Linked DNA regions of Homo sapiens: regions 1 and 2 are each linked to region 3. The links are contacts of gene promoters, found by promoter capture Hi-C in blood cells and fetal thymus (Javierre and others, 2016). All regions are on one chromosome and are shown on one strand. Each heading gives the region's core, a stretch centred on a gene start or on the middle of the fragment in contact. The rest is flanking DNA. Distances are from core to core; before and after follow the strand shown. Region 1 has its middle 180 kb from the start of HDDC2. Region 2 overlaps TRMT11 (tRNA methyltransferase 11). Region 3 holds the start of HEY2 (hes related family bHLH transcription factor with YRPW motif 2).

Evidence for each region. The method cuts DNA at HindIII sites, captures the fragments that hold promoters and counts their contacts. A CHiCAGO score of 5 or more calls a contact.
Region 1: a fragment that was not itself captured here is called in contact with the fragment with the promoter of HEY2 in region 3 in 1 of 17 cell types (megakaryocytes); the score reaches 5.4 in megakaryocytes.
Region 2: a contact is called between a fragment that was not itself captured here and the fragment with the promoter of HEY2 in region 3, in 1 of 17 cell types (activated CD4 T cells). The highest score is 5.3, in activated CD4 T cells.

Annotation. Positions count from the first base shown.
Region 1 is chr6:125,477,528-125,480,458 of GRCh38, reverse strand. No RefSeq gene overlaps it. Among named protein-coding and RNA genes, the nearest start is that of HDDC2, 180 kb to the right of the region's middle. The HindIII fragment of the contact is 1,940 bases long and covers 320-2,259 here.
Region 2 is chr6:126,017,252-126,020,209 of GRCh38, reverse strand. The region is part of intron 11 of TRMT11 (tRNA methyltransferase 11); the gene reads right to left. Among named protein-coding and RNA genes, the nearest start is that of TRMT11, 32 kb to the right of the region's middle. The HindIII fragment of the contact is 2,288 bases long and covers 561-2,848 here.
Region 3 is chr6:125,748,357-125,751,056 of GRCh38, reverse strand. It overlaps HEY2 (hes related family bHLH transcription factor with YRPW motif 2), which reads right to left and starts at 1,425. Exons shown (of 5, transcript NM_012259.3): 1 at 1,198-1,425. The coding sequence starts at 1,280. It overlaps HEY2-AS1 (HEY2 antisense RNA 1), which reads left to right and starts at 1,632. Exons shown (of 5, transcript NR_183491.1): 1 at 1,632-2,098. RefSeq lists a silencer at 1,207-1,916. The HindIII fragment of the contact is 5,509 bases long and covers 1-2,700 here.

The DNA of each region.
Region 1 (2,931 bases), core at 40-2,539, 270 kb after region 3:
GGGGCTCAAGGATCTGAGGATGGGAAGCTCATTTGGGTATTGTAAAACATATGCATTCCATTTAGGATCCTTCTCTTGAGAAAATGGCTCTGACTCCTGGGTGGAAGGAACACGAAACTAACATACTCCTCTCAGCTGTATAAATATAATTTGGCAGAAGATATAAGCTGGCATGCCAACAATCAGAATACAGCCTTTCATCTCCATCATAGCCTTAGCTAGGCTGTCTGCCTATATTTGACCTCCTCGTGGGTTCATTTGCTTCATTTTAGCCAATAGAATGCTGCAATGTAGAGGCATAAGAAATAAAGAGGAAGCTTACAAGGAGACTTCAGAAGAGCTACTATAAGAGTGTTAGTGATGCACAGTCAGTGATGTACAGATCCTCTGCGTGGCCTCTGTGGGCATTGGGGCATTTCCCATAATTTTCAATCAAAATTTAAAAATCACATTTGGGATGCTACCTAGTTTAAGTCCAAATAAAGTCCTATTTTTCAGTCCTCCCTGCCTTAACTGGTATCCATATGGGCCAAGTTTCCCTTTATTCCTGAACTCCAAAGGACTGTACTTCCCGAGTCTCATCTAAGTACAGATGAGACGCACGTATATTTGTATTACGCATCTAGAACAGAGGTGTTGTATGAAATTTTCTTGATTACTGAGGGCACAGTGATTTTTTTACAATGTGAGTAAACAATACCCTTTATTAAGTAGATAGGTCCAAATGAGCCAATAGTAGTAGTTTGTTCAGTGTTCAACAGATGTCACTGTGTTAAAGTACTTTGCAGCATTTCTGTGACTTTGCTGGGACTCCTCACACACAGTTAGGTGCTGTACTGTACACAAGGGGGGGAGTTTGATACAGTTATTGCCTATCTTAAAAAGAGTTATTATACAACCTAGTAGAGAAAATAATAAAAATGCAGTAAAACATGTTATACAGCAAAGCAAGATGCTATACTATATTTAAGAAAGGTATTTTATCGGTCAGGAGGTTTAATTGCAAATATCAGAATCTAATCTATTGACTTTGAGTAGTAAAGGGGTTATGAAAGAATATTAAGTCACTTACAGAATTTCTAGACAGACCAGGGAAACCAGGTTGGGTGCTGCACAGCCAGAAGAAATGCGCAAGAAGACTGCAAAACCATTTAGTGAAACCACACTGTTGTGGCCTCTACTGTCCCCCATGCAACACCTAAGTAAGACCCTAGGGACTCTACCCAATGCCTCCAGAGAATAAAATTCCTCTGCCATAATATCCAAATTCCCTGAGTGTAGATGTTACTTTACAGTGGCCACTTCTGCCTTCCAAGTCTGATGTGAGCCCCAGCGCTCACTCAAGGAACCTAGATCATAGGTGGAAACCCTATAGGTGAGAAGGAGTTTTTTAGTCTTCCAGCTTCTTCAGTACAAAAAAGTAGCTCAGAAGAGGGCTAGGGTGAGTGCCAAGTAATCTAAACTGCATCTGCCATGGGTACAAATGAATAGAGTGGTTACTAAGAAAGAGCAGGAGGTCAGATTTGGTTATGCTAGAATAGGAGTCACTCCATCATGGACATAGGATTTCAACTGGGCCTTGGGAGAATGGTGGTATCTCATAGGCCAAAATTTGGGTGACCTGTCCTGGTGAATAAAATAAGACATATAATGGTGTAAAGGCAGGGAAGTGTAAGGTAAGATTCAGGAAATGGTCAGTGATATCTGTTTGGAGCATACTTTAACAAGTAAGGAGGAAGGAGACATAAGGTTGGGGACTTGGGTTGTGCCAGTGTGGTAGAAGTCTTATACCAGATGGAGGAGTCTCTAAGTACATGATAATGGCTCCCTGAAGGTTATTTTCTTAAAAACTAGATGGAATTTTAGAAATAGAAACAGAAAAATGCTCAGACATCTCCTCTTCTCTGTCTGACCTTACTCTCTGGGTGATTTCATCTGCTCCTATTGCTTTAAAGGTGTCCAGATGCTAAAGACCCCATGTTCCCATATCCAACTCAGACTCTGCAACTGAACTCTGGGCTTATCTATCCAAATGCCCACTCTCCCTGATATGGATGTAGATAGGCACTTCATACTCAATATGTCCAAAATGGAGCTCTTGTTTCTCCCTCTACCTTATAGACCTACTCACCACTGTCTTCCCGTCTTAGTAAGTTGTAAATTCAAACTTCCAGCTCTCTGGCTAAAAATCGCAGTGTTATCCCTGACTGTGTCTCTCTCTCACACTGCCTATTGACTATCAGCAAATCCTGTCAAGCTTTCGAAAGACGTTCAGAGCCTGACACCATCTCATCACCTCTTCCAACACCACCCCATTCTAAGCCACTATCATCCCTTGCCTAGATTACACAGTGGTTCCTAACTAACTTGCCAGCTTCCAAACATTCCCCACACAGCAACCAGAGTGTTTTTTTCAACAAGTTGAGTCAGATCACGCCACTCTTCAGCTAAAAATCCCCTAGTGGCTTCTCATTTCATTAAACTAAAAACCAACATCCTTACAAAGATTTATTTGGCCCTACCCAACTTGGCCCCAGCTACTCCTCTGATCTTTCTCCCTACAAGTCACTGTCTTCCTCACTGTGCTCCAGCCTCAGGCATCCTTGCTATTCTCCAAATGCTCCAAACACATCCCTGACTCAGACATTCATACTGTTGTTTCCTCTGCTTTAAATATTCTTCTACCAAAAAGCCCTGTGACTCTCACCTTTCTTCAGAAATCTGCTCCGATACCACATTATCAGAGAAGACTTCCACAATTCGCTGTGTGAAATAGCACTGAATACCCTCTATCTTCCTTAGCTGCATTTCTCACCATGTGCCACATAATATGTATGCAGTGCAATATATTATGGATATGTTTCTAATTATTGACATTTCCCATGAATTAGGACAGTGCCTGGCATACAGCAAGTGTTCAATATATATTTG
Region 2 (2,958 bases), core at 455-2,954, 270 kb before region 3:
GGTCTGCTCCAAAATAGCAAAGGTGCTGATTAGTTTTTCATGTAAAGGACCACAATCTCAGCTACCTGTTTTAATGCATCAACACTGTTTTCACCACCACTCTTTCATGAACTTTTCTAGGTCCCACTGACCTTCAACGAGCTCTCCCTATTACCTCAACCATATGCTCAAACCCATCATCACCCACTTCCCAAGCATCATTCATAATGCACTTCACTTTATTATCAGTGGAAAGAATTATCTTGAAGTCATTCTCTGACTTCTTCCTAGAGCTTTCTAACAAGTAATGAGCACTTCAGATTTCACCTCATCTAGTAATTCTTTAATGTTCACTACATAGCCAGAAATGTTGTACTTCTTATAACAATGACATCAAATTTTGAATCTTCATGCAATGCATTTATGACATGAAAGAATAAATTCTTTTTTTACTTTTTCAGAGAACGGATCTTGCTCTGTTGCCGAGGCTGGAGTACAGTAGAAAGAATATATTCTACACCATGGTTGAGACTAAAATAAAAAGTGCTAACAGAGAGAAGATATAGCCTTAACCTTAAGCTTGCAAACCGTAGGATCTATAGATGCTGGAAACAGTTTGTGTCAAACTAAGTAATATACTAATTTTTAAAGGAAAAAAATTTTTTACTTCCTGGTGGACTGACTTAAAGTATTTTTTTATTAAGGTGTCACTTAAATATGCACAAGCATAAATTAGATATAAACTCTTCATGTTTAGATCCCTAATATAACTATAAAACCCAAAAAGCAAATTTATCAATCAAATCCAAGGTACCAACACAATTTTAATTAACATCTATGACATGAATGACGCTAAACTGCTAAACTAAGTTGCTGCATTTGGTTTTAACAGCAGAAAAACATATTTGCATGTTTCATATTATCTTTTTTGACTCGATCTTAATTCATTTTTAACAATTAATCTATTATATTAATGAGCCAATTAATTTAACAATACACTCCCAAAGCACCATACTAAAAAGATTAAAAAATAGCAGTTAAAAAATTCTTCAGCTGGGCGTGGTGGCTCACGCCTGTAATCCTAGTGCTTTGGGAGGCCAAGGCAGGTGGATCACCTGAGGTCAGGAGTTCAAGACCAGCCTGGCCAAAATGGTGAAACCCCGTCTCTGCTAAAAATACAAAATTAGCCAGGCATGGTGGCACATGCCTGTAATCCCAGCTACTTGGGAGGCTGAGGCAGGAGAATCGCTCAAACCTGGGAGGTGGAGGTTGTAGTGAGCCGAGATCACGCCACTGCACTCCAGCCTGGGCAACAAGAGCGAAATTGTCTCAAAAAAAAAATAAAATAAAGTAAAATAAAATTATTCACTGTATATTTACCAATATATTTCATTCCAATGGAATGTTCGCAAGTGGTTAAGTAGAAGGCATAAATCTATATTTTGCCTGGACCATTATGACAGTACTAAATCCCATCTTAATTCCCTGTTTTTATTAATATCCCCCTACAATCCAAGTTATCTATTTAAAAACTAAATCATCCTTAATAGGCAAATCCACAGAGATTGACAAGTGGTTGACAGAGATAGGGGGGTGGTAACTACTAATGTCTGTGGGGTACTTCTCGGGGGTGAGGAAAATGTTCTGGAATTACCTAGTGGTGATGGTCACACAACTTTGTGGATAAACTAAAAACCATGAAGTTGTATACGTTAAGGGGGTGAATTTCATGGTATACAAATTCTATGTCAATTAAAAAAAAATAATTGTGTACATAGGCCCCTAGATTTTCCACGAATCAATTTTGACTGTCACTCATTTTCCTGTGAATCTTCCTGCTTCAACTACTTCCCAAATGTCACTAGAATTTCAGCTCCCATTTGAGAAACAGATTTTGCATTGATTGAACATTTACTAAAAACAGCTTAAAAATCACTTTTTCCTCTTTCCTAAGTAAGAGATGAAAAACATGTTCTCTTCACTCATTATAGGCACTGCAAAGTTCACCTTACTACAATCAAAATTTATTTCCAAGTCCTACTTTGGGGCACATTATTAGCTTCTTTCTCACCTTTTTAAAAATTTTTAATTAATGAATTATAATTGTACATATTTGGGGGGTACAATGTGCTATTTTAATATAAGTATGTCATCATGTTATCACTAACACTAGCAGCTGGATTTCTATAAAGGTCATCATTTATAAAGAAACACTGTTTCTAATCACTTCAAGAGTTATCTGTGTACAATGAAATTAGATAAAGCTAAATGGATATATGGAGCCTGGGCAAACAGCTACACTCACTCAGTAGCACACTGGCTCCTATGACATCAAACACCTGGATTGTATGTGTACACACTGGATTGATGCCCTGTACACATGATTGCAACACATAATCTGGGTCATTTGTAAGTAGTCAAAATTGTAAATAATAAACTCACAAATACCAACAGTCTACAGTAATTTTATGTGTTAAGTCTCTATAAGCAGTAAAAACAAGCTATTATGAGAGCACAGAGGATGGACTGATTAATTCTGCTGAGAAGTATCTGAGAAAGTGTCACAGAAGTGGTGACAATTAAGCCAGGCCTAGAAAAATGACTAGATTTTTACCAGTTGAGGAAAGAAGAAAGGGCATCTCAAACAATGGGGACAGAATAAACAAAAGTGAAAAGACATAAAATGCACAGAGTATCTTGATGCTGGCAAAAAGTCTGATATACTGGAGTGGGGAGAGTGTAGACTAGAAGGAAAAAGAACAGCAGAAGTTTCTGAGTAGCAGTTTCTTTACTGCAATTTAAATTGTCAAACAGTGAGAAAATCCTTTTCAATCATTAGCTCTCACAATTTTCCATATACAACTAAGCTTTTACGCAGTATTTTGCTTTTATGTCTTATACTTTTCAATCAATCCTGGGTTAAAATAATACCTGAACTTGGTTATAATGTGTAACTTGAATCATATAACAGGGTTTGGC
Region 3 (2,700 bases), core at 176-2,675:
AAATATATTTTTATATTGAAGGTTCAATCAAAGTATTATTTGGTCACATAATTTTTACAATCCTTTCTAGTTTGTATCTGTTTCTCTTCATAATTCATGGATACTATGCTTCTTTGTGTTCTCAAATTCCCCAGGTTCCTGTTATTTGTTCTCTTTCATTTTAGAAATGCTGCACACACCAGGTTGCTATTACCTCACCTTCTCACTTCTGGATCTTATTTCTGAATTACCTGTCCCCCTCATTTTCACCCCTTCTTTACGGGTTTCACCTTTCACGTGATAGCTTCTGTTTTTCAGACCTCATTTTTAAAGACGGCACAACAACACTTTAATGATCAGATACTTAAACCTTTGCTTTCGTGTAAATATCTTTGCTCTTGCAGATTTTGTGCTTTGCTTTGTATGTATTAGAATAACAATATGAAAGAAAACCAGTTTTCCAAAGGTAGGAAGAATTTCCCTCTTTGAGTGACAGCTGCAGATAAATAATTAAGGTGCTTCTGGGGATGCCAATTAGAAGCAATTATCATTTGACCCGCCTTGGCTCTAAAATGCCTCGGTAATCTCCCTCTGTCACAGGAAAGTGGAGGTCTGGCTTCTGTGATTACGACGCCGATCTCTTCCAGACTTGAGAACAAGCAGTCAAAGAAATGATGCCCTTTCCGATGCTTACATCTGTCACTCACTCTTGCGTTAGCCAAGTCACACACGGTCAACCTGCAAAGTTCAACCTACGTAGCCTTGACATCGCAGGTTGCTTTAATTCCTCCAAAAATCAAGTTGTGATTTTGGTATCTCTAAAAATCAAAAATCAAATTGTTTTTATTTTCTCCTGATCTATTTTGAAAGTGCCCCCAAATACGGTTTCAGTGGCTGGGACATCGCCTGTCGCCCAGACGCTGCCGTTCGCGCGTCCAACTGTGACAGCCAGGACCCTCCCTCGCCAACTCCTGCGCTCTGCCTTTCAGTGGCGTCTCCCATCCTGGCTACTCCACCCCTACGGTGAAAATCCACATCCCTTGCCCCATCCCAACTCACGCTCTGCGAGCGCCCACCACTCAAACTTTCTCAGGCCAAACTTTCCCTCTCTACCTAGATGCTGCGGAGACCAGCCTCGGGATTTCCAGGGAGCCACGCATTCACAAAGCTACCCCAAGCTCCCGAGCTGCGGGCCGCTCCCGCGGAGCCCGCGCTCACCCCGAGTAATTGTTCTCGCTCCCCACGTCGATGGTCTCGTCCATGTCGCTCTCGGAGGTCGTCTCCTCGCAGGGGCGCTTCATCCCGGCGAAGACCGCGCGGGGCACAGCCCGGCCGGAAGCTCGGACGCCGAGCGGGGCGCAGCACCCTGACGCCCGCCTCCTCCCTCCCCGGGCCTGGGCAGGCGCGGCTCCGGCGGCGGCGCGGTCTGCTCCTAGCGGCTCTTTCCCACGCCGCAACTCTGCTCGGCCGCAAGAGCCGGCGCCGGCCACGCCCCCCCCTCGAGCGGGTGGGGCCACCTCACCCGCCCCCGCGCACCGGCCCAGGCCTTCCGCCCGGCACCTCCCCCTCGCTGGTCGGCGTGGCTCGCGATTGGCTGGGCCAGGGGGCGGGGCCGCGCTCGCCAATGCCCGCCGCAAGGCTCCAGCCGAGGCGTGGGAACGCGGCCGCGGACCTGGTACCCCAGAGCAGCGAGCGGGTGGGGAGCAGCCGGGGCGAGAATGAGCGCAATCTTGCTAACCCCTGCGGAGGGAGCGCGCGGGCGCCAACGCGGGCGCGCGGGGGCGGGCCCTGGACCTGGACCTTGGGTTTCGGCCCTCCTCCGCGCCCCGCGGTCTCGCGGGCGAAGTTTCAGTCCTGAGTGTAAAGAATAACCCCAAGCGCGTGGCTAAGTGCGAGCAGGCGCGTGTGACGTCGGGAGGCGCCGCGGCTCCTCGGCCGCCCCACTCGGTGGTCCCCTGTCTGGATCCAAACTGCTGACTGGCTGACCCGAGTGGTCACATTTGCCCTCTGGGGCTTTTGAAAACCTTAAATCAAAATTGCTTTTGAATCTGACAACTCCTGAGGCTACTTTCGCGGCCTCGGGGCTGTTTCATATAAGGACGCGAGTTTTCCTGATCAGGTCTGTCGGCCACGTTACGATTTCCAATTTGCGATCCATCAGTTACTTCCATTGGGTCTTCAGCCCCCAGGGACTGTGGATCCTAGACCCCGCGGAGAAGCCCGTGGACTGGAGCTGTGTCAGCTCTGATGGTAGGAAAGACTAGATCAATGACGCGGGCATTTCAGGACATAATCGTATATTTTCAAGTTCGAGTTTTTCGGGCTTGGATTATCCAGATAATTGCCTCCAGTCTCCTCCAGTCCCCCTGGTGTATGCACTCGCAGCCGCAGAGTTAGAGTCCGGGAGGTGAAGATTGGCGCTTGGAAATTAGATTTGGTTTCTAAAGTATGAATTCGTGTCCAACAGTTCGTGCCTTGGACAACGTGGGTTGTATAAAACTCAAGCTGTGTGTTTAAAACAGGTTTTCTAGCTGCTGGTTCTCTCCAAGTTATGTAGGACTTTTGAACTGGCCACCCCGCTGTGCGTCTGCGAGGGCAGGGACTGAGCGAGACCCAGCCAGGGGCGCCGGGAGACTGGCGGCGGCTGGGTTGGGGTCCAGCCGGAAACCACACGTTGGCAGGGCCGCTTGGTCAGTAGTGGAGAGAGCCTCTGAGAAAGGG